7 separate regions of the Homo sapiens genome follow, and all the other regions are linked to region 7. Evidence: promoter capture Hi-C in 16 types of primary human blood cells and fetal thymus (Javierre and others, 2016). All regions are on one chromosome and are shown on one strand. Each heading gives the region's core, a stretch centred on a gene start or on the middle of the fragment in contact. The rest is flanking DNA. Distances are from core to core; before and after follow the strand shown. Region 1 overlaps SFT2D2 (SFT2 domain containing 2). Region 2 overlaps TIPRL (TOR signaling pathway regulator). Region 3 overlaps MPC2 (mitochondrial pyruvate carrier 2). Region 4 has its middle 10 kb from the start of TIPRL. Region 5 overlaps PRRC2C (proline rich coiled-coil 2C). Region 6 has its middle 2.3 kb from the start of VAMP4. Region 7 holds the start of METTL18 (methyltransferase 18, RPL3 N3(tau)-histidine).

Region 1 (3,130 bases), core at 609-3,108, 1.6 Mb after region 7:
TGTCATAAGCACTAATAAATTAAGCTTTACACAGGTAGCCAGAATCATGCAATCAATCATTTAATTAACATCCCCCATTTCCAGCCAGACACAGAGCTAAGTTTGGGTACAACTGGGGACAAGATACACGTGCAGCCCTTATCAAGTGGCTTACAGATCTAACAAGTCAGTGTAATAAAATGCTACCTGCACTGGCACATAAATATAGATGTGATACTGAGAGTCCAAAGGAAGAGGTCATCAATTCTGGAGAGGAGGAGGTAATCAGGAAAAGCTTCATAGAAGAGGTAGCTTTTGAGCCAGGTCTTAACAAATGAGCAAGTATCTACCAAACCAGGGGAGGTACAGATAGGGCAGCATTCCAGGCACAGAAAACAACCAAACAAGGGCACAACGGCATTTTGGGAAATGCAAGAAGTTCAGCCTGGCTGGGAAGCACACTGGATAGGGAATGGGACAACGGTGAAGCCAGATCTCAAAGACGCTTGACTGTATGCGTGCTGAGGAATTTGGACTTCATTTGTACAGACAAAACAGGGGGCCACTTGAGGGGGCTAAGCAGGGCTATAAACGAATGGCTCTACAGCTCAGTGGAAAATGGCCTTGAGAGGGGCAATGGAGGAGACAGAGAGACCAAGCAGATGCATCTTGCTCAGGTAAGGGTGATAACAGGCCAAAGCTAAGGCCAGCTCAGATATCACCTTCTCTAGGAAGCCCTCCCTGACTCAGGTCGTGTCGGCTGCCCCTCCTTGAGAATTTCTTTCCATATCTTGTTATATCATGAGTTATATGTCTGTCTGCCTGGCAGGGACCAAACTGGACTTGTCTTTGTATCCTCTGAGCCCAGCACAGAGTGTGATCAATGCTTACCCATTGAGCATGCAAGTCAGTCAGTGAAGCACAAACAGCCATGGGGACAAAGAGGAAGGAGCCAGTAAGACAGGGTTACATCAAGCCCTGGTGAGGAATCATGGAGGGGAGACTTGGACCCCCAGGACTCTGAAGCCATTTACAGAGACACAAGGGAAGGGAAAAGGGGGAAACAAGATGACTGAGCTCAGGTTCCTGCAGGTCATTCAGGTAGAGGCCAGGCCAGTGCTCCCAGTTGGAGAGGGTGGAGTTGTTGGCACCAGTGTGACTGAAGCATCAGTGTGAATGAGCTTGACCTGGAAAATGTGTGCATCCACAACATGCAGAATGGGCTGCCCACCTCCAGGAAGCGCTCAGATGCCCTGCCCACATGAGCTGCTACTCAGGTCTGGGAAGGTCTGACACTAAATAAAAACCAGTTTCCCTTATGGCCACTGGAGTGATGAGCCCTTTGAAAACCATCAACTCAATCTCTGACAGCAGTAAGAATACAGCAAGCAGGAGGACTGGGTTGTAAACCCTGGAGAAATCACTGAACTGCTTTGTGTCGCAGTTTCTGTACATGTAAAATCACGATGGCAAAACATTTGCTGCTTTCTCCCAGGTGTTTCAAACTAAGATATAAAATGTTTTCAAATAATAAGATATGAATGTGAGATATTCTAACTACTTCTCTCCAAATTCCTTACAACTACTGGAGCCTCCTCTTTCACCTCCCTCAAGGGCAACCAACATCCATTTTCCCATCTAATGATTGGCTAAAATTGGATTTTTAAAAAACAGTTACCTCCCAATTGATGCGATATTACCAAAGGTATAAAACACTGCGAAGAGGTGTAGTCCCTTCCTGGGCACCCACAGCAGAACAGTACCCTGGAATTTAAAGTACAGTGTTTGCACATGAGCAACCCTCCCACCCGGCCACACAAGCAGAGCTCCCAGAGGAAGCCCTGAGGAGTCCGTTTCCCTCCCCACCTCCCTTATTCCCCTCTCCTCTCATCCATGCATTTTAGTGAAGGGCAAAAGGGGAAAGGAGGTGGACAAAAGGGGGAATATATAGCAAAGACAGGTAGAAGGAAAAGACAGAGGAGGAAGGGAAATCTTACCAGCAGTGAGCAGAGAATTCCTATAGCAAAACACGCAATGAAGCCTTTTATCCTGGTACTCCAGCTTAATGAAGATGCCTCAACAACCTAAAATTGAAAAAAAAAAAATACATATACACACACATTTACTAAAAACAAAGCAAGCACATAACTAAATCTAGAAAGTGTTAAGTTGTATTAGGGAAGGCAAGGAGCACAGAATCCTACACACTCAGGCGATGTAAGTCATCAAATCCAGACTTTATCAGAGCTGTAAAGTTATTATGCAGACATGAATCTCCTCTCTAGCAGCTGACAGCTGTGCCTCCAGCTGAACATCTTCAGAGGTAGAAACTCCTTGCCTCAAGCACAACCCATTTCAAGAACAGGAAGGCAAGACAGCCAATCCTAGAGTAGCCCAGAGCCTTCCTACAACCCAGGCAGGATGAAGACCACACCTGGAAAGGCATGCGTCCACCAGGGACTCACAAGTCCACCTGGGATCCTCCACCAGGCAGGGTCCCAGGAAATAAGGAAAAGATGAGGGGACGGCACTCAAGCAGCTGCTCCACTGGTCATCGTCTCCTACATCAACTCTCACCCACATTATTCACTCTTGGTTCAGATATTGTACTTACAGGATGCTGGCATCAGCCAACTCATCCAAGTGGGAGACAGATCCTGGTTAATTAATTACTGTCCTGTTACATCCTGAGTCTTTGCCATCATGATTAATCCCTCCCTGGAGCAAAGTTCAGGGGAAGCCAGGAGTTCCAAAAACACTACTGAAACAGGAGAGCCTGTGAGTAGCTCCCAGTGGTTCTTTTCCCATGTCAAAAATGACAACAGCCAGGCACAGTGGCTCATGCCTGTAATCCCAGCACCTTGGGAGACCAAGGTGGGCGCATCACCTGAGGTCAGGAGTTCGAGACCAGCCTGACCAACATGGCGAAACCTTGTCTCTACTAAAAATACAAAAAATTAGCCAGGTGTGGTGGTGCATGCCTGTAATCCCTGCTACTTGGAAGGCTGAGGCAGGAGAATTGCTTGAACCTGGGAGGTGGAGGTTGCAGTGAGCCGAGATCATACATTGTACTCCAGCCTGGGCAACAAGAGTGTAACTCTGTCTCGGAAAAAAATGACATCAAAGTTTTTGCACTGGTGACCCTACCAGT
Region 2 (2,870 bases), core at 359-2,858, 1.6 Mb after region 7:
CCTTGGCCTCGCAAAGTGCTGGGATTACAGGCGTGAGCCATTGAGCCCAGCCCAGATTTGCTTCCTTTCAGTCATACTATAAGATTTCAAAATGCAGCTAACTTCACAATATAAGACCTACCAATTCCATCTTCCTAGCGTTATTTACCATGAATCTCTCTCTTTTTTTTTTTTTTTTTTTTTTTTTTTTTGAGACGGAGTCTCGCTCTGTCGCCCAGGCTGGAGTGCAGTAGTGTGATCTCAGCTCACTGCAACCTCTGCCTCCCGGGTTCAAGCAATTCTCCTGCCTCAGCCTCCCGAGTAGCTGGGACTACAGGCATGCTCCACCATGCCTGGCTAAATTTTGTATTTTTAGTAGAGATGGGGTTTCACCATGTTGACCAGGCTGGTGTTGAACTCCTGACTTCATGATCCACCCACTTTGGCCTCCCAAAGTGCTGGGATTACAGGCGTGAGCCACTGCACCTGGCCGAATCTCTTCTTTTTTTTTTTTTTTGAGACAGAGTCTCACTCTGTCACCCAGGCTGGAGTGCAGTGGCGCGATCTTGGCCCACTGCAACCTCCACCTCCCGGGTTCAAGCAATTCTCCTCCCTCAGCCTCCTGAGTAGCTGGTATTACAGGTGTGCGCCACCACACCCAGCTAATTTTTTTTTTTTAATAGACAAGGGGTTTCACCATGTTGGTCAGGCTAGTCTCGAGCTCCTGACCTCGTGATCTGCCTGCCTCGGCCTCTCAAAGTGCTGGGATTACAGGCGTGAGCCACTGCGCCTGGCCCCAATCTCTTCTCAAGCAGGGCTTACACACACAGGACTTAATACTAATATAGAGCTTTAGAATTTATTGAGAGCTTCCCATAAATTATTTCACATCAAAACTCTGCTTTGAGGTAGATATTTCTGTTTACCCAATTTATTGATAAAACTGAGACTCAAATTAAGTAACTTCCTAAAGTCATTTCAGGTTCATACTCAGGGCAGACAGGGCATAAACCTACTTTGTCTAACCAGAAGTTCTTTTTGCTCATATATTTGTTCATCTATAAACTTGTGAGCTACAAGCTAGCAGGTTCTGTCTAAATCATGTAATACATTACCAAGGCCCGAAACACATTTTAATGTTTCTTGATAGTGATAATGATAACAACAAGGCCGTCTGCCGTTGCCACCAACTACACTTTTAAAAATAAATTTTTCCACTAATGCCGTCTTTTATTTTCTACTGATAAGTCAACAAGCAAAACCCCCTCACATTAGGTTCTGAGGAATGCCACAACAGAAAACAAGGACGATAAAAATAGTTGCAAAAAATAACCCGTTACTAGAAAGTTCTAATGCTCAGACTGTCCAAGACAATCAATGACTCATGAAAGAAAAAAGTAAGATTTACCTTTAACTTAAGAGATTCTCCAAGTAAGGTTCCCTTATAATCTGTTGTATAGGTCCAATCATATGGTTTAATAACCTCTTTGGAGTGTTCACCCTCCGTCCTCAAATACCAAAATGAGAAGGATCAGATTCAGTGATGCAGAATAGAGATTATCTGTATTTATATATCACATCAAATTATATTCTATAATAACATATCCTATTAAATATATACACTTGTTATAATTCACCAGTACAAGGTTTTTCTTACAGTTTTTCTGCATTTATTATTTAACTTGTCATGTACTGATGTAGTCTTTTCAATTAGTCTGTATACAGCCTGAGGACATGGTTTAAAGGTTTATACTTATTTGTATCATCTAAGGTACTTAGTACATATTAGGCACAAAGTAAATAATTGCTGATTTGACTATCAAAGAAAAACATGTTGTCTTAATTTCAATGCTTCTCAAATAGGGTATTTATTAAGCATATCATAAGTAAACATTTTTTCTTAAAAACAGGAACATTAAGTATAGCCTACTGCCTCTTCAGTAAGGAACACTGAAAAATCGAAAACGTACATAGCTCAGCTCAGTTGTAATTCACTTTAACAAGTATTCAAGCAGTGGGGTAATTAACTTCCATTTTTATGTCTGAGAAAAACGAATTCTAGAATGATACAACTCTCAAGTTTAATAATACCAGCCCTTCATTCTAACAACACACACGTATCATTACTGAATATTTTTTCAAGTCTTTTCTCTTTTGTTTAACCTAATTACCTTTTTTGTTTAACCTAATTGACCGGATTCTCACCTGCTTTCTTGCCACTCTTCAGCACAGGCCACTTTAAGCATTCCTTGGTAGTTGTTTACACATCTTAACGCATCTGTAGCATTGAACTCAATTCCAAAGCCAGACCCATGCTGGATTCTTAAAACGTTGTCTCCAAACATCATTTCAGGGAGAGATGGCATATGTAATTCATCGGCTAATCTATACGTAACCAAAAGTCGGGTGAGATAATTTTATATCGCTGTTGGCATTTTTGTTTCTTTTCCATCCCAACAGAATTCTTCCTACTTGCTGAATGAGTTACACAGCACATGATTTAATCAATATGATATATTTGCAAGGTCTATAAAATGCTTTCATCATCCATTCTTTCATCATCATATGGCACTGTACTAAGTAGTGGGCTAAATAAGATAAATATACAAATACGTAATATAATAGCTTATTATACTACTATAATATATAGCACACAGATATTACTATAATATATATCATGAGGGTATGAAGAAAAGATAGCAAAGCAATTAAAGATACTGTCTCTTGTAGGAAAATAATTTTTCCATTAAAATTCTCAATTGTTAAAAGTTTCAAAACGTGGTGATGAAAAAAGCAAAAGCACCTGACACTGATGAGGGAACTCAGCACTTGCCTACACAGACTTTCAGAAGGATTGTGTCAATTTACATTTCACCCTGGGGCAACAATCA
Region 3 (3,034 bases), core at 522-3,021, 1.9 Mb after region 7:
GAACCAATGTTATCAGTGTTTATAAGGAAATATCTGTATCATAAAAATTTTATATTCAATGCTAAGAGAATTGATGTTACAATAGATGGTTAAATACAACTTAGTGCAAATATATATTGTTCTATTATATGTAAATAAAATCTAATATGGATCAAATAATGAGTGTACGTACCTACATAGTTTGAATTACACAGTTCTTTAGCATCTCTGTTAGAACTTATTTTGTTGCCACAGATTGTCAGTGAAGAATCTTAATGCCAGTCTAAGATATTAATATATGTCCATATATATTCTTAAGTGTATATTTAATATATTAAGTTTAAATACACTAAATATACATATATTATTTTTTAAAGTAATAACTTATTTAAAGTTAAGAGATAACTAAAATAGATGTAAGATTAGAATTTCAAATACAATTGTAAAATATTGGTGAAAAATAGAATATCTTCAAACAATCAGCTACCAAGAAGGTTGAATTATTCAATATTTATTGAGGGCCTATTGTATATTAGACACTGTTCTGGCACTCAGGATAAAGCAGTGGATAAAATAACGAAACCCACCCACACAGAGTTTGTATTCTCAGAAGAATTCATAAAAAGGAATATCAGCTGGGCGCGGTAGCTCACACCTGTAATCCCAGCACTTTGGGAGGCCGAGGCGTGTGGATCACCTGAAATCAGGAGTTCGAGACCAGCCTGGCCAACATGGTGATACCCTGTCTCTACTAAAAATACGAAATTTAGCTGGGCATGGTGGTGCACACCTGTAATCCCAGCTACTCTGGAGGGTGAGGCAGGAGAATTGCTTGAACCCAGAAGATGGAGGTTGCAGTGAGCCAAGATCGTGCCACTGCACTCAATCCAGCCTGGGCAACAGAGCAGATTATCATCCTTGATGCAGTTGTTCAACACTTAACATATTTTTTGTGTGCTATCCTGCTTTTAAACTAACTTTAAGAAATTAGAACTGTTTATGCAGATGTGCTAAAGGAGAAGAAAGCCCTAAGCTATAAATAGTTTATCATTTCCAGGTCATGTAAAAATATTAATTTTGCTTATAACAGAGAATGAAATATGTTTAAAGTGCTGTATGGTACAGTAGAAAGAGGACTAGGATCAAAGAAACTGTGTTCTAGTCGTTGCTCTATCCAGAACTCTCCTGAGTGTAAGACAAATTACTTAACTTGTAAGTGCCTCATCTTTTTCATTTATAAAAATGAGGGAGCTTGGACTTTCCTTAAAGTCTTTTCCAGCTAATAATCTATAATTTGGTATTCTCTTAGGACTTTTCTTACATTCAGAACCTTCAGGAAACTCAGATTTCATTGGGGAAAGTCATATAATTATTGTTAGATTAGGATTTAGGGATCTAGTTTTTTATCCTTGTTGGATTATTTATTTTAAACAAGTAATTTGTTTACTGGGCCTCATTTGCCTGATTTATGAGTGCCTACAGTAGATGATTTCAACAGTCTTTCTAAATCTAAAAGTAACTGATTCTTTGTACCTGAAGAAATAAGTAAATTTAAAACGTATCATCCCTACAATGCATCTTAGCTATTTTAGTCTCTTTACCTGTTCTTTACTCTGGAATTTCAAACCAAAGTGTATTTTCAGTCAACATTTTTAAAAACATTATCTACCCATGATGTTTTGGGTACTATTTTAGTGATAGCTATTTCCAAGGCATTGTGGAAAATATTAAAATTATATGGCTCTAAAATGGTAGCTTAGTCATGTTCTTAGTGTTAAATCAGAACTAGCTTTGGCACAAATAAAAATGAATGATTTTTTGGCCGTCAGTATCCATGTCAAAGATTAACCTTTACATATTCTAAGGATTTGTATCTAGTTTGTCACATGATAGCAAACAGGTGAACTTGTGTAATGTAAGGAATTAAGAGGGGTGTTAAAAAGTAACAAACCATAAAGGAGTGGCATGAAAGGGATGGGAAGAGGTAGGGAAATGTAGTGATTTTATGACCTCTTAGCATTCAGTAAGAAACTTTATTTTTCACAGAGGGATATAGTGAATACCTCAATCCAGTATTTGTAAGTGTGTATATGTGCTTGAGAGTAAAAATTACCTATTCTGTTCCAAAAAGTTAGTCTTTACTTAGGGAGGGAATCATATATACGATAGGTGGCCTACTTTCTGGGTAGGATTCATATAATATTTTATTAACAGTAATTTCTCTCAAATAAGGAAATTAGGAAGTAAGTTTATGTCAGTTTATTAATAGGTTCATTGAAGTTCAAGGCAACTAAATTTGTTTATTTGAAAATTTATGTCTGTTATTATTTGCTTATGATATTCACTTGTAGAATTTCTCAAATTCTATGAAAAGTTAGAATTTAAAAACATGAGTTTCACTTTAAAAATAAGGCAATAAAACACAAAATAACTTATAGTCAGTATTTTTCATTCTTGAACATAGTTCATAGTTTAAAATGTGTAGACTTTTTTTTTTCTTTTTTCGAGACGGAGTTTCGCTCTTATTGCCCAGGCTGGAGTGCAATGGTGCAATCTCGGCTCACTGCAACCTCTGCCTCCTGGGTTCTAGCGATTCCCCTGCCTCAACCTTCCCAAGTAGCTGGGATTACAGGCATGCACCACCACGCCCGGCTAATTTTGTATTTTTAGTAGAGATGGGGTTTCTCCATGTTGGTCAGGCTAGTCTCAAACTCCCCACCTCTGGTGATCCGCCCACCTCCGCCTCCCAAACGGCTGGGATTACAGGCATGAGCCACCACGCCCGGCCTAAATGTATAGACATTTTAAATACTTGTTTAATGTTTCTAAATTGTCAGCATTGGAGGCCTTCTTCAACATCCAGTAGTACTGTTCAAAGAAACAAGATGAAAATGTATTAATTCTTTTTCTAAAAGAATATATAGTATGTTTGATGTGGACAATTTCTTTCATCTTGGGCTATAAATTAATGTCTTATGAGGAGATTTTTCTTCAGTATATTTTCAGCAGTTCAAATTTTCCACCTAATCAAGTTATTTCATTTATCATAATGGAT
Region 4 (2,925 bases), core at 397-2,896, 1.6 Mb after region 7:
AGGCTTCTAGGTCTTTCATATCTGCAGTCATAATCCGATATACACTAATTTTGGATTATGAGAAATTAGGAGAATTAACACTTCTACTTTATCTTCTAAACCATTTCTTTGAATTGACAAGGAAAGTGAATTTTCAGCTGTCTGGAGAGCGGATCAGCACCCACCATGTGGCCATTGTCATAGTGGTCCCCAGCTTATGCTGTAATTAGTTCTCTCAGAGCACTCAGCTGGGTTATAGTGGATCATCTTGGAAATCAATAGAATTGTTTCTATTGATTTTTGTCTTTGATGTTATTTTTTGGCAAAGTTTTCATTACATAAACATTTTAATGCTCTGTCATATATATATGTATATATATGTATATATATATACATATATATATATATATATATATATAATACATGTACACATTGTCAGGATAGATTTAAGTGTATGGCATGCAAAGTGGCAAAAAGAGCTGATGGGGCCAGTCGCAGTGGCTCATGCCTGTAATCCCAGCACTTTGGGAGGCCAATGTGGGCAGATCACCTGAGGTCAGGAGTTCAAGACCAGCCTGGCCAACATGGCAAAACCCCGTTTCAACTAAAAATACAAAAAAAAAAAAAAAATTAGCCGGGTGTGGTGGTGCATGCCTATAGTCCCAGCTACTTCGGAGGCTGAGGCACAAATATCGCTTGAACCCTGGAGGCAGAGGTTGCAGGGAGCCGGGATTGCGCCACTGCACTCCAGCCTGGGCAACAGAGCGAGACTCTGTCTCATACAAAAATTAAAAAAAAAACCCAGCTAATGGAACATGAGTAAATAGGTTTATTTGAGAATCATTTATAAAGGGAAACAGCTGCACTATATCATGTTACCATAATTAGTGTTAACTATTGAAGTAACTGTGTCCACTTTATAGAAAACTGGTGTTGTTGGTGGCAGGTGCCTGTAGTCCCAGCTACTGGGGAGACTGAGGCAGGAGAATGGCGTGAACCCAGGAGGCGGAGAGCTTGTAGTGTGAGCTGAGATCGCGCCACTGCGCTCCAGCCTGGGCGACAGAGCAAGACTCTGTCTCAAACAAACAAAAAAAGAAAACTGGTGTTGTTTTAGTGTAAATGGGCATTCATTCGGGTACTCAGGAAAATATAAACATATAAAAGAGCTTGATTCAAATGTTACTTTTAAGGTTGTGAGAAAATCACTAGATAATTTCTTGTAAGACATTAGACCAGGGGTGTCCAATCTTTTGACTTCCCTGGGCCACATTAGAAGAAGAATTGTCTTGGGCCACACATAAAATACACTAATGATAGCTGATGAGCAAAAAAAAAAAAAAAAATCTGTGCATAAGTCTCATAATGTAATGTTTTAAGAAAGTTTATGAATTTGTGTTGGGCTGCATTCAGAGCCATCCTGGCTCATCCACATGTGGCCTGAGTGCCATGGGTTGGACAAGCTTGCATTAGACATTTAAAAATGTCTTTCATAGCAATAAACTTTAGTACAGGATAGATTTTTGTATGTGTGTACTTTAATTGAGGTTACCAAAATGCCAAGCTATAAAACTTTAGGAGATGAGCAAAATATCACTACGGGAATTATTTCATCCTAATTTCTGAAGATAGAAATGAAGCAGGTGAACCAGAAATTTCTAAGATAGCTACCAGGGAAACAAAGAATAAAACAAAACCAAGCAGAACTATAATAGGAATTCATGCTCTTTCTGTCCAGCAATGTTGTATGGTCAAAATATTTTTCTTTCTTTTCCCTGCTTATTTTGGGAAGGAGAAAAAGGGTAAAAGAAACTGAAGCAGTTTACATGCAAGGAATTTGAATGGGCAAACACAGTCTTTCTGAAATCATAAGCTTAAGTTCAACCCCTGGTGATAGGAACGAGCTGGTAGAGGGAGGATAAAGGAAGATGAGGGCTGAGATCTAAGTGGATTCCCAAGTGGTGTCAGGCCTCTCTCCTGGTGAGCAAAAGCAGGAGGCTGTTATTGCCGAAGTTAGCTGTGGGCCTGGAAGCAGAGGCCTATCACTGCAGTGTGAGTTCCATGACTGATAGGGAAAGGAATGGAAGGGAAAGAAGGGGAAGGAAAGGTCCCAAGGAAAAGGTCCCAATGGGGTATTGCTATCATGGGATGAGATCAATCAGAGCAAGCTGAGCAGAGAAGAAAAAATTAGGCTTTGGCAAGTGGATTCTTCACTTGAAATGGGAAAAGTTGGCTGTGGCTCACTCCTGTAATCCCAGCAATTTGGGAGGTGGAGGCGGACCGATCACTTGAGGTTAGGAGTTTGAGACCAGCCTGGCCAACATGGTAAAACCCCATCTCTACTAAAAATACAAAAGTTAGCTAGGCACGGTGGTGTGCGCCTGTAATCCCAGCTACTTGGGAGGCCAAGACAGGAGAAAATCCAAGCTACTTGGGAGGCTGAGACAGGAGAATCACTTGAACCTGGCAGGCAGAGGTTGCAGTGAGCTGAGATTGCATCATTGCACTCCAGCCTGGGTGACAGAGTGAGACTCCGTCTCAAAAAAGAAAAAAAAAAAAAAGAAATGGGAAAAGTCTAAACAGGTGTGATGGTTAATACTGAGTATCAACTTGATTGGATTGAAGGATGCAAAGTATTGCCCTGGGTGTGTCTGTGAGGGTGTTGCTAAGGGAGATTAACATTTGAGTCAGTGGGCTGGGAAAGGCAAACCCACCCTTAATCTGGGTGGGCAGAATATAAAGCGGGCAGAAAAACGTGGAAAGACTACACCGGCCTAGCCTCCCAGCCTACATCTTTCTCCCATGCTGGATGCTTCCTGCCCTCAAACATCAGATTCCAAGTTCCTCAGTTTTGGGACTCAGACTGGCTCTCCTTGCTTCTCAGCTTGCAGATGGCCTATTGTGGGACCTTGTGATCATGTGAGTTAATACCTAATAAACTCCTATATA
Region 5 (3,149 bases), core at 611-3,110, 1.7 Mb before region 7:
CAACTGCTGGGCAACAAAGCAAGACCCAGTCTCCCCTCCAAAAACAAAAAAAAGAAAGCCCAGTAGAAGCTGGAGAGCAAGGGTATACAGAATTTCCAAGTTTGTGCAGTTACGATTCTCTTCAATGTCCAGTAGGACATCCAGGGAGTTGGGAGTGGTAGGAAGCACAAAAGCAGATGGACTGAATCAGAGATTAGAGTTGCACCAGTAATCAGTAAACTAGTAAAGAAAAGCAAGGTGGATGAAGATACTGCCAGAATTTCTGGAGTAATGTTTTACTGAAGTCTAATCCAGACAGTGAAAGAAAATGGTTTGAATGCCTATGTTTCTTCCAAATTTCATGCTGAAACTTAACCCCCAATGCAACACTTTTAAGAGGTGGGGTCTTTAGGAGGTGATTGGGCCATGTGGGCTCTGCCCTCACAGATGTGATGTGTGCCTTATGAAAGGGCTGGAGGGAACTAGCTATGCACTTCTGTCATCTGAGGACATGAACAAGGTGCCATCTTGGAGGCGGAGATCCTGCCTGTCGATAACTTGATCTTGGACTTTCCAGCCTTCAGTACCAACAGAAATTAATTTCTGTTATTTATAAGTTACCCAGTCTCAGGCATTTTGTTACAGCAGCATGAATGGACTAAGAGAGGAAGTCAGAAGAGAATGAGGAGGAGAGCAGAAAGGACTGGTGATTTCAGTTAAGGTTGACTAAAAGCTCTAGCAATAAAATAGTAATTATTGGCAGGGCATAGTGGCTCATGCCTGTAATTCCAGGAATTTCGGAAGCCGAGGCGGAAGGATGGCTTGAGCTCAGGAGTTCAAGACCAGCCTGGGCAACACAGCAAGACTTTGTCTTTTCTTAAAAAAAAAAAAAAAAAAAAAAAATTAGCTGGGTATGGTGGCTCATGCCTGTAGTCCCAGCTACTTGGCAGGCCAAGATGGGAGGCTCACTGGAGCCTAGGAGGTTGAGGCTACAGTGAGCCATGATTGTGCCACTGCACTCCAGCCTGGGGGACAAAAGGAGACCTTGTATCCCCCCACTGCCCCACCAAAATCTGAGCTCCAAAGATATAGTATAACGTAAAAATACCCGATTAGGGCCACGCGCAGTGGCTTACACCTGTAATACCAGCACTTTGAAAGGCGAAGGTGGGAGGACCACTTGAGCCCAGGAGTTCAAGACCAATCTGGGTAACATGGTGAGACCTCATCTCTACAAAAAATAAAATTTAGCCAGGCCTGGTGGCACATGCCTGTCTCCCAGATGCTCAGGAGACTGAGACAGAAGGATCGCTTGAGCCTAGGAGGTTGAGGCTACAGTGAGCCATGACTGTGCCACTGTATTACAGCCTCGGCAATAGACAGAGTAAGACCCTGTCTCAAAATAAATAAATAAAAATAAAAATAAAAACCAGATTAGGACTAAGAAGGGCTTAAAGCCTAAATCACTGAAAATTACCAATGAAGAAGCAATCTTAGAGAAGTAAAGTAATTTGCTCAAAACACACAGAGCTGGAAAGTGGTAGAGTCAAGATTAAATCCAGGCTGACTTCAAAGCCAGTGCCCAACATAATCTCATTATTTAAAAAATCAGGATTGAACTTTCATTTTGAGAAATTAACAAACTGAAATATAAAACAATAAATGTCACTTAAGAGACCCTAAATGATTCATGTTTTCATTATCAAACATACTGCATTACAATATAGAATAAGATATCAAAGATAAAACACAATAGCAACAAAACATAGCAACATCTCTATTAACAAATGTATTGGTGGGGCATGGTGGCTCATGCTTGTAATCCCAGCACTCTGGGAGGCAGAGGTGGGAGGATAGCTTGAGCAATGGAGTTTGAGACCAGCCTGAGCAACATGGAGAGACCTTGTCTCTACCAAAAAAATAGCCAGGTGTGGTGGCACATGCGTGTGGTCCCAACCAGGAGATTGAAGCAGGAGGATCGCTTGAGCCTGGGAGGTTGAGGCTACAGTGAGCCAATGATTGCACCACTGCACTCTAGCCTGGGTAACAGAGTGAGACCTTGTCAAAACAAAACACACACACACACACACACACACACACACACACACACGCCCCAAATGTATCGATTTGCTGCTAGAAATGTCATTTTGTAATACAAGTAAGGAATAAGAGCTTGTGAAATAAATTTAAAGTTTCTGGTGATGACAGGGTTTAGACAGCAGCCATTAAAAACCAAGCACAGAGTGCATGTGTGTGCCTATGTGCATACTATACAGAAAATAATAAAGTAAATATGGTAAAATATTAACAAGTGGGGAATCTGAATGAAGGAATATGGTAATTCTTTGTATTATTTTTGTAACTTGTAAAAAACAAGAATCAGGCCAGGCGCAGTGGCTCACATCTGTAATCCTAGCACTCTGGGAGGCCAAGGCAGGTGGATCACTTGAGGTCAGGACTTCCAGACCAGCCTGGCCAACATGGCAAAATACCATCTCTACTAAAAATACAAAAATTAGCTGGGTGTGGTGGCGTGCACCTGTAGTCTCAGCTACTAGGGAGGCTGAGGCAAGAGAATCGCTTGCACCCGGGAGGCAGAGGCTGTAGTGAGCCAAGATAGCACCACTGTACTCCAGCCAGGGCAACAGGGGGAGACCCTGCAAAAAAAAAAAAAAAAAAAAAAAAGGCACAAAAATCAAAGCTCTAAAAATCGTAAAGGGGGCAGGGGTGCTGATGGACTGATGGGTGCCCCCCTGACATTCATATGTTGAATCCCTAAATCCCCTGGGCTGATATTTGGAGATGGGGCCTTGGTGAGGTAATTAGATTTAGATGAGGTTGTACGGGCCATGAGGGGATTAGTGTCCTTATAAAAAGAGATACCAGAGCTTGCTCTCTTCTCCATTAGAGAATACAGTCAGAAGGTGGCTGTGTGCAAGCTAGGAAGAGCCCTCACCAGAACTACTATGCTGGCACCCTGATCTCAGACTTCCAGCCTCCAAAACTGTCAGAAATAAATTTCTGTTTTTTAAGCCATCCAGTCTATACTATTTTGTTATGGCAGCCTGAACTATGATGAGGGGAGACTGATGCATTAACTTCAAAAACCAGAATTTTATCACTCAAATTTTAACTAAATTGCCCATTTAAAATAAAAAAGCCCAAATATT
Region 6 (3,204 bases), core at 424-2,923, 1.9 Mb before region 7:
CAAATCTAGTCACACTGGAAGTTAAGACTTCAACATATGAATTTTGAGGGGACATAATTCAGTCCATAACACTTTCCATGCCAGATTCACAGTCCTCCTGGTGTGTGTGTGTGTGTGTGTGTGTGTGTGTGTGTGATGCTCAAATGGAAGTAGAGTCTACACACTATTTTGCACCTTACTTTTCTCACCTTATAGCATCATAGAGGTATTCCATGTCAGCACATATAGATCTATCTAGTTCATTTTAATGGCTGCATACTATTCTATTGAATGGCTAGACTATGACTCATTTCAGCAATTTCCTATTGCTGAACATTTAGAGTTTTTTTTTTCACTCTGTTACAAAAATCCTGTAACAGATATTTTTATAGAATACTTTTATATACAACCTGTATACCCATGGGATAAATTTTAGAAGTAAAATTATTAGATCAAAAAGAACTTCATATAAAATTTTGATACATATAATTACCATGAAATTTTTAAAAATGCACCAATTTTTATACTCTTACTGTTTAAGAATGCTTGTTCCTCCCACGCTGCTCCCATACCACACATACACACACCCAATATTGTAGTATCAAATTTTTTTTATTTTTGCTATTGAGCTAACACAAAAGATCAAACTGTCAAATCAGGCTCAAATCAGAGATTTTACTCAGTATCAAGCTTTACTAATAGTTTCAAGGATACCAGTAATCCCCAGGTCCTTTCTTCTTGCTTTGGATGCATCCTGGCCCAGGACAGTAGATGTGGTTTCTAAATCAAGTGTACAGTCACCCCACTTACACAGAAGGAGCCAAATCAGTTACAAAACACTTCCATTTTATGCTACGTTACATAACTTCCGCGGTATTTTCCAGTTAATCATACCCCTGAAATCCGCATTGATTCTTTTTTGTTTTGTGAGAGGGAGTCTCATTCTGTTGACCAGGATGGAGGGCGGTGGCGCGATCTCTGCTCACTGCAACCTCCGCATCTCCAGTGCAAGCTATTCTTCTGCCTCAGCCTCCTGAGTAGCTGGTGTTACAAGTGTACACCACCACACTCAGCTAATTTTTGTAGTTTTGGTAGAGACGGGGTTTTGCCATGTTGGCCAGGCTGGTAACTCCTGACCTCAAGTGATCCACCTGCCTCAGCCTCCCAAAGTGCTGGAATTACCACATCGATTCTTAATGTGTTTACCATAAACAATCCCAGCCCTGGGACATCCTGTTAGAGGAATTCCGTAAATATGGACTCTCTTGCTAGCAAATGCCATTAGTTTGTTTGCCAGGAGGTCTGTAATTAGTATATACTTTATATTTTATAAAAATCACATGCTTTTTTGCTTGCTTTAACCTTGCTTTCCTGAGAGTATTTCCCTACGAAGGGAGAGACTGGATTGCAGATCTTCTGCTCAACTCCTTCTTTCTCAGTCACTGATAGATGAAAAATGGTATTTCCTTGTTCACTTTTACATTTTAAGTAATGTTGAACATTTAGCAACAAAATATTGAAAGCTAGAAGGGAGATGAATCAAGATGCAATTGCCTTAGCAGACTTGAAAAGTAGGAATCCCAAGCAGGCCATGAAGCAACCTGATACACACAGTGAAACCCTGTATAAGGCTCAGGAATTGGAAACACCACGTAAAGCTGAAGAGAGCATGATGTGAGCTATAAATACAGGCGGAATGGTATAAAGTCTGTTTAAGAATGAATCAGATGCTGAGATTCCCTTTGCTATCCCATCAAAAACCCAGAGATTTAGTCCTGAAAGACAGCAAAACGCTGATTCTCTAGCTAGGAGGACAGCAGGCCCTCTTAAGGATGAAGGTGTCATGTTGAAAAAGGGGAAAAGAAAATTAGAGGACTAACATCTGAATAACTGAAGCTCACTAAAAAGAAAATGGAGGAAATAAGTAACTCAAGTTGCTTGGAGTTCTGACTCTAAGCTCAGTGCTATTATAATCTTTTAGGCTTACTGGTATATTTGATTCATGTTAACTGTAAAATGACATTTTCTAAGTTTCACAAATATTGGGGTTAGTCAAAGGGACTTTGTTCAGGTGATTAAGGGTGGGGCTTGCATTACCCCTCTCCTAAGCGATCATTCCAAAATGACTGGCAGGACTAAAGAATTATGTTTAAAAAACAAAAAAACCCAAAGAATGGATTATCTGTAAAAGCTATGCAATGACGTGCCTGTTAGAGCTCACTGACCACACCTTAAGTTGTCTAAGAGATGAGGCTATAACTAGCTAAACTCTAATTGGCTAAGGCACCAAAGCCAGAAAATAGCCCATAACATGCAAATATACAGACATAAAATCAACTGTAAGTGCTGGGCACAGCTGCTCATGCCTGTAATCCCAGCTACTTGGGAGGCAGAGGCAGGAAGATCACTTTAGCTCAGGAGTTCAGAGCTGCTGTGCGCTATGATTGTGTCACTGCACTCCAGCCTGGGGGAAGAAGTGAGACTTCATCTCAAAAAAAAAAAAAAGATCAGCTGTAGAAGAAAAAATAATGTCAGGGTTACCTGTGGAGTCTGGGGGTAGACCCACTATCACACCTAGACAGGGATACAAACCATGAGAGGCTTCTCTTCTAAGTGGGCCGTTTCAGTCCAAGTTGCTGACTTGGACAGCAACTTGGACTGAATAAACACAGGCAACTGAGTTTAGCATTAAGCTTTCAGAACCTTCAACTGACAACTCAACGGCTGTTTCTAAATCTCAGAACATTTAAATCAGAATCTAGGTAGCACGTGGGCACCTACGTAGTTTTAAAAGCTTTCCAAGTGATTCAACTCCAAGTGAATCAGAGTGGAGCATCGTTGCCTTAGTCATGGCATCTTTCAAATTCGTTAGTACATTTTTACATAAAAATAAACATCAAACAAAAGAAGAACAACTTTTTGGTAAGAGGGTGTCTATTCTTTCCTTTCCTTTAGTGTCCGCAGATCTTTCCTCCTGCTGTTTTCTTGTCTACTCTTGTTCTTGAACACCCCCTCTTATTTTTATGTCTTTAGAAAGTGCCTGGCACAGTATTTCAGACAGTTAAAATACTGTATCAACAAAGGACCCATAGATACTGTATTAATTTTAAAAGATGTGTAGTGAATATGATTCAATGAGTAAAATAATCCAGCTGGGGCGTGGGAGGAACGGATAATAAAACAAATAAGAGAACGGAAAAACAAAATTAGGAATTGTTTCTGGTA
Region 7 (2,977 bases), core at 60-2,559:
AGACGGCAGTTCTGTACCTACACAAAAACTAAAAAAGGGGGCTTTGGCACCTTCTGAGATTTTGCTAATGCCTAGGTGAATGACTTCTATGTGATTACATAGGGCTTTAGCTGCACAATATTTGTGCAGTATTGAGATTCTCTCAAGTGAAGGTTACTTTTTTTCTTTTGAGTGTAATTGTATAAAGCTGGGCTCAAATGTTGTGAAAAAGATACATATACATATGGTTTACCATGAAAGGCTAGGATTCCAGGCACATTTACAACCACAAAGGCATGAGACCAATCAAGAATGTGCTGCACCCGGACGAAGAAGGCGCTAAGCGCCTCAAATCCAACAGTTGAAAGCCAACAACAAGCGGAAGAACTCTTTCAGAAAGACTCCAGCCTGGGTGAGAGGAGTGAGAACTTGTCAAAAAAAAAGAAAGAAAGAAGAAAAAGAGGTCTGAGAGGGGAAGGAGGAAAATCATTTTTATTTACTGAACATCTTTTAAAGATTTCACACCACAGAACTATGCCCTTTAATTCTTATAACGCTAAGAAAGCCCTTATTCATATTCACCACCCTTTTTACGGGAGACAAAAGCTCAGAGTATCTCGCTTTACCTCAAACTATTAAGAGCCAGAGCTATCGTCATACCGCAGGTCTCAGTCCTTGCCTCCCCCATTATCCACTAGCAAAAGTATTTACACTTAATTGCAAGCAACGAGTACAGAAAAACTGAAAGAAGGAATGGAAGAAAACGCCACATCCACTGCTAAAACCTTGGGTCAGAACACGTCCGCGAGGCTTTCCAGGGCCAAAGCCTTACTTAAATCTACCACGGTTGTCGCTTCCCCTCCAGTCCCTCACTTTTCATCCCACTCACTGACAAAGAAAAGAGGGGGTTCAGGCCGCGGTAATATAACCCAGCCTGGCGGTGGGTCTGAAGGGACAGAAGAGAAAGGTTCGCGACCCGCCCACACCCTTCTCTAGGTAGAAGTGACAACCAAGGAAGGATATGAGGAGTCGGGGCAGGACGGACGGCAGTTCCCGGCGGCATAGCTCCTCTGGCCAGCTACTTAATTCTTCCAGGGGAACCGCGCTAGCTGGGACCGCACCTTCCTGAGACATACTTTCGTCAAACAGGAGAGCTTCAAACCAGACCCGCCAAAGCCCAGACCGGAAACTCGCAGTCCCGCCAACCCTTGCGCGCTCTCCGCCGGCTCCAAAACCATAGAGAGGAGGGCGGCTGGTTTCTTGGTGAGCCCGGGTCCCTCAAGGCCGGAAAGAAAGTCGGGCTTCTCTAGCCCCTGGAGGACTCGACTCACTGGTGCGCGATTTAGGTCCGGAGGAGGCGTTGTGAGGTGAGCTTTTTCAGAAGCGCGATCCCAGGACACGTCGGGAAGCAAGCATCCCCAGGTCTGGATCACTGTAAACATTACATTCAAATGGGGAGGTGAGGGCCAGAAGTCCCCACTTCTGGGGTCGGATTTGTTCCGGGACCTGCAGCCGGAAGTGACTCCAAGCCTTGCAGCGTGATGGGAGAGGAAAGAGGCGCGTTCCTAGCCGCGGGACTGGGTGACCCGCCTCTCCCCCAAATTGTAAATCTTGTATAAAGGGAACAAAGATCCCACTTGCCAGAACTGTGAAAATTGAGGCAGATGGTATAGTGTCTAGCGCAGTAGATAGAAGATTCTCAATAAAGTTGCTTCTTATTTCTACAGGTCTCTCCAAACTACTGCAGTGCCCTAGTTTGCGTTTGCTCTGCCACCGAATTAGTCTTTACTAATTATTGCCAAATTACCCCCACTTCTATACACTTAGGGCTGCTGTTCTCGACTAAATGTTTGGAGTGAAGTCTTGGATGAATTTACACACACCAGGCCATACCTATGCATGTTTTTAAAGGGACGCTGACTTACCAAAATAAAATACTGCACCTCTTCTGTAAAAGACAGAAGTGAAGTTATTCTGGAAGCTTAGGGGGTGAATATGGTTGGACACAAATCAAGACAGCTGAAAGACAGCAAGTAGCTAGGCTGTCCTGTCTGAATATCTTGGACTTTATGTTTGTCCAGGTGGTAGTGGTGGTGGTTGCTGTTGTTCTTCTGTTTGTTTTTATAGTTGATTTTCTTCTCCCACTTTGGAACCCTTAAGGTGTGTATGAGTGTCCAAATCTCTTATCTCTCTCTCTTCCCCACAACTTTTTAAGAAAAAGCAGCTGTATGGTGGGACAGGGAGGGGTGGGGGTGGCTGTTTAATATTACACTTTAGTGAAATGTGCCATTTTGCTTTAATCATCATTTTCTTTCTTTTTTTTTTTTTTTTCTTTCCAGAGCTGCTTGGAAAGAGGACCAAAGACGTCTAAAAAGTCATTTGGAAATATCTCTAAATATTTGTTACCATGTATAAGCTGCTAAAGAGAAATTGGGCCCAACAAAACTAATTGAATAATTGAGGCAGATTTGTGTGTATCATCAAATTCTATCCAGAAGTTGAAGAATCTGAATTTAAAGATTGTGTGCATTTAATAAGAGGATGACCTTTCAGTTTAATTTCACTATAGAAGACCATCTGGAAAATGAATTAACACCCATTAGAGATGGAGCTTTGACCCTGGATTCCTCAAAAGAGCTGTCAGTCTCAGAAAGTCAAAAAGGAGAAGAGAGGGACAGAAAATGTTCTGCAGAACAATTTGACTTGCCTCAGGATCACTTGTGGGAACATAAGTCAATGGAAAATGCAGCTCCCTCTCAAGACACAGACAGTCCACTCAGTGCAGCCAGCAGTTCAAGGAACTTGGAGCCACATGGAAAACAGCCCTCCTTGAGAGCTGCCAAAGAGCATGCTATGCCTAAAGATTTAAAGAAGATGTTAGAAAATAAAGTCATAGAAACATTACCAGGTTTCCAGCATGTTAAGTTATCAGTAGTGAAAACCATCTTGTTGAAAGAGAACTTCCCTGGAGAAAACATAGTTTCAAAAAGCTTTTCTT

Evidence for each region. Contacts are between HindIII fragments. The CHiCAGO score rates a contact against its expected background, and 5 or more counts as called.
Region 1: a fragment that was not itself captured here is called in contact with the fragment with the promoter of METTL18 in region 7 in 3 of 17 cell types (naive CD8 T cells, total CD8 T cells and non-activated CD4 T cells); the score reaches 6.4 in naive CD8 T cells.
Region 2: a contact is called between a fragment that was not itself captured here and the fragment with the promoter of METTL18 in region 7, in 1 of 17 cell types (naive CD8 T cells). The highest score is 5.3, in naive CD8 T cells.
Region 3: a fragment that was not itself captured here is called in contact with the fragment with the promoter of METTL18 in region 7 in 2 of 17 cell types (total CD8 T cells and naive CD8 T cells); the score reaches 5.2 in total CD8 T cells.
Region 4: a contact is called between a fragment that was not itself captured here and the fragment with the promoter of METTL18 in region 7, in 1 of 17 cell types (total CD8 T cells). The highest score is 5.8, in total CD8 T cells.
Region 5: a fragment that was not itself captured here is called in contact with the fragment with the promoter of METTL18 in region 7 in 2 of 17 cell types (non-activated CD4 T cells and total CD4 T cells); the score reaches 5.4 in non-activated CD4 T cells.
Region 6: a fragment that was not itself captured here is called in contact with the fragment with the promoter of METTL18 in region 7 in 1 of 17 cell types (non-activated CD4 T cells); the score reaches 6.6 in non-activated CD4 T cells.

What each region holds. Positions count from the first base shown.
Region 1 is chr1:168,230,447-168,233,576 of GRCh38, reverse strand. It overlaps SFT2D2 (SFT2 domain containing 2), which reads right to left. Exons shown (of 8, transcript NM_199344.3): 2 at 1,977-2,063; 3 at 1,658-1,743. Among named protein-coding and RNA genes, the nearest start is that of SFT2D2, 6.0 kb to the right of the region's middle. The HindIII fragment of the contact is 3,164 bases long and covers 277-3,130 here.
Region 2 is chr1:168,183,396-168,186,265 of GRCh38, reverse strand. It overlaps TIPRL (TOR signaling pathway regulator), which reads right to left. Exons shown (of 7, transcript NM_152902.5): 2 at 2,185-2,364; 3 at 1,388-1,487. Among named protein-coding and RNA genes, the nearest start is that of TIPRL, 5.9 kb to the right of the region's middle. The HindIII fragment of the contact is 4,693 bases long and covers 1-2,870 here.
Region 3 is chr1:167,928,810-167,931,843 of GRCh38, reverse strand. The region is part of intron 2 of MPC2 (mitochondrial pyruvate carrier 2); the gene reads left to right. It also overlaps a transcript of DCAF6 not described here. Among named protein-coding and RNA genes, the nearest start is that of DCAF6, 6.4 kb to the left of the region's middle. The HindIII fragment of the contact is 4,869 bases long and covers 1-3,034 here.
Region 4 is chr1:168,167,033-168,169,957 of GRCh38, reverse strand. No RefSeq gene overlaps it. Among named protein-coding and RNA genes, the nearest start is that of TIPRL, 10 kb to the left of the region's middle. The HindIII fragment of the contact is 410 bases long and covers 1,442-1,851 here.
Region 5 is chr1:171,495,715-171,498,863 of GRCh38, reverse strand. All of the region lies in intron 1 of PRRC2C (proline rich coiled-coil 2C), which reads right to left. Among named protein-coding and RNA genes, the nearest start is that of PRRC2C, 12 kb to the right of the region's middle. The HindIII fragment of the contact is 4,223 bases long and covers 1-3,149 here.
Region 6 is chr1:171,742,806-171,746,009 of GRCh38, reverse strand. No RefSeq gene overlaps it. Among named protein-coding and RNA genes, the nearest start is that of VAMP4, 2.3 kb to the right of the region's middle. The HindIII fragment of the contact is 2,003 bases long and covers 672-2,674 here.
Region 7 is chr1:169,793,239-169,796,215 of GRCh38, reverse strand. METTL18 (methyltransferase 18, RPL3 N3(tau)-histidine) reads left to right here and starts at 1,309. Exons shown (of 2, transcript NM_033418.4): 1 at 1,309-1,401; 2 at 2,319-2,977. The coding sequence starts at 2,521. FIRRM (FIGNL1 interacting regulator of recombination and mitosis) reads right to left here and starts at 1,176. Exons shown (of 25, transcript NM_001320047.2): 1 at 1,101-1,176; 2 at 233-387. RefSeq lists an enhancer at 1,257-1,576. The HindIII fragment of the contact is 2,103 bases long and covers 1-1,962 here.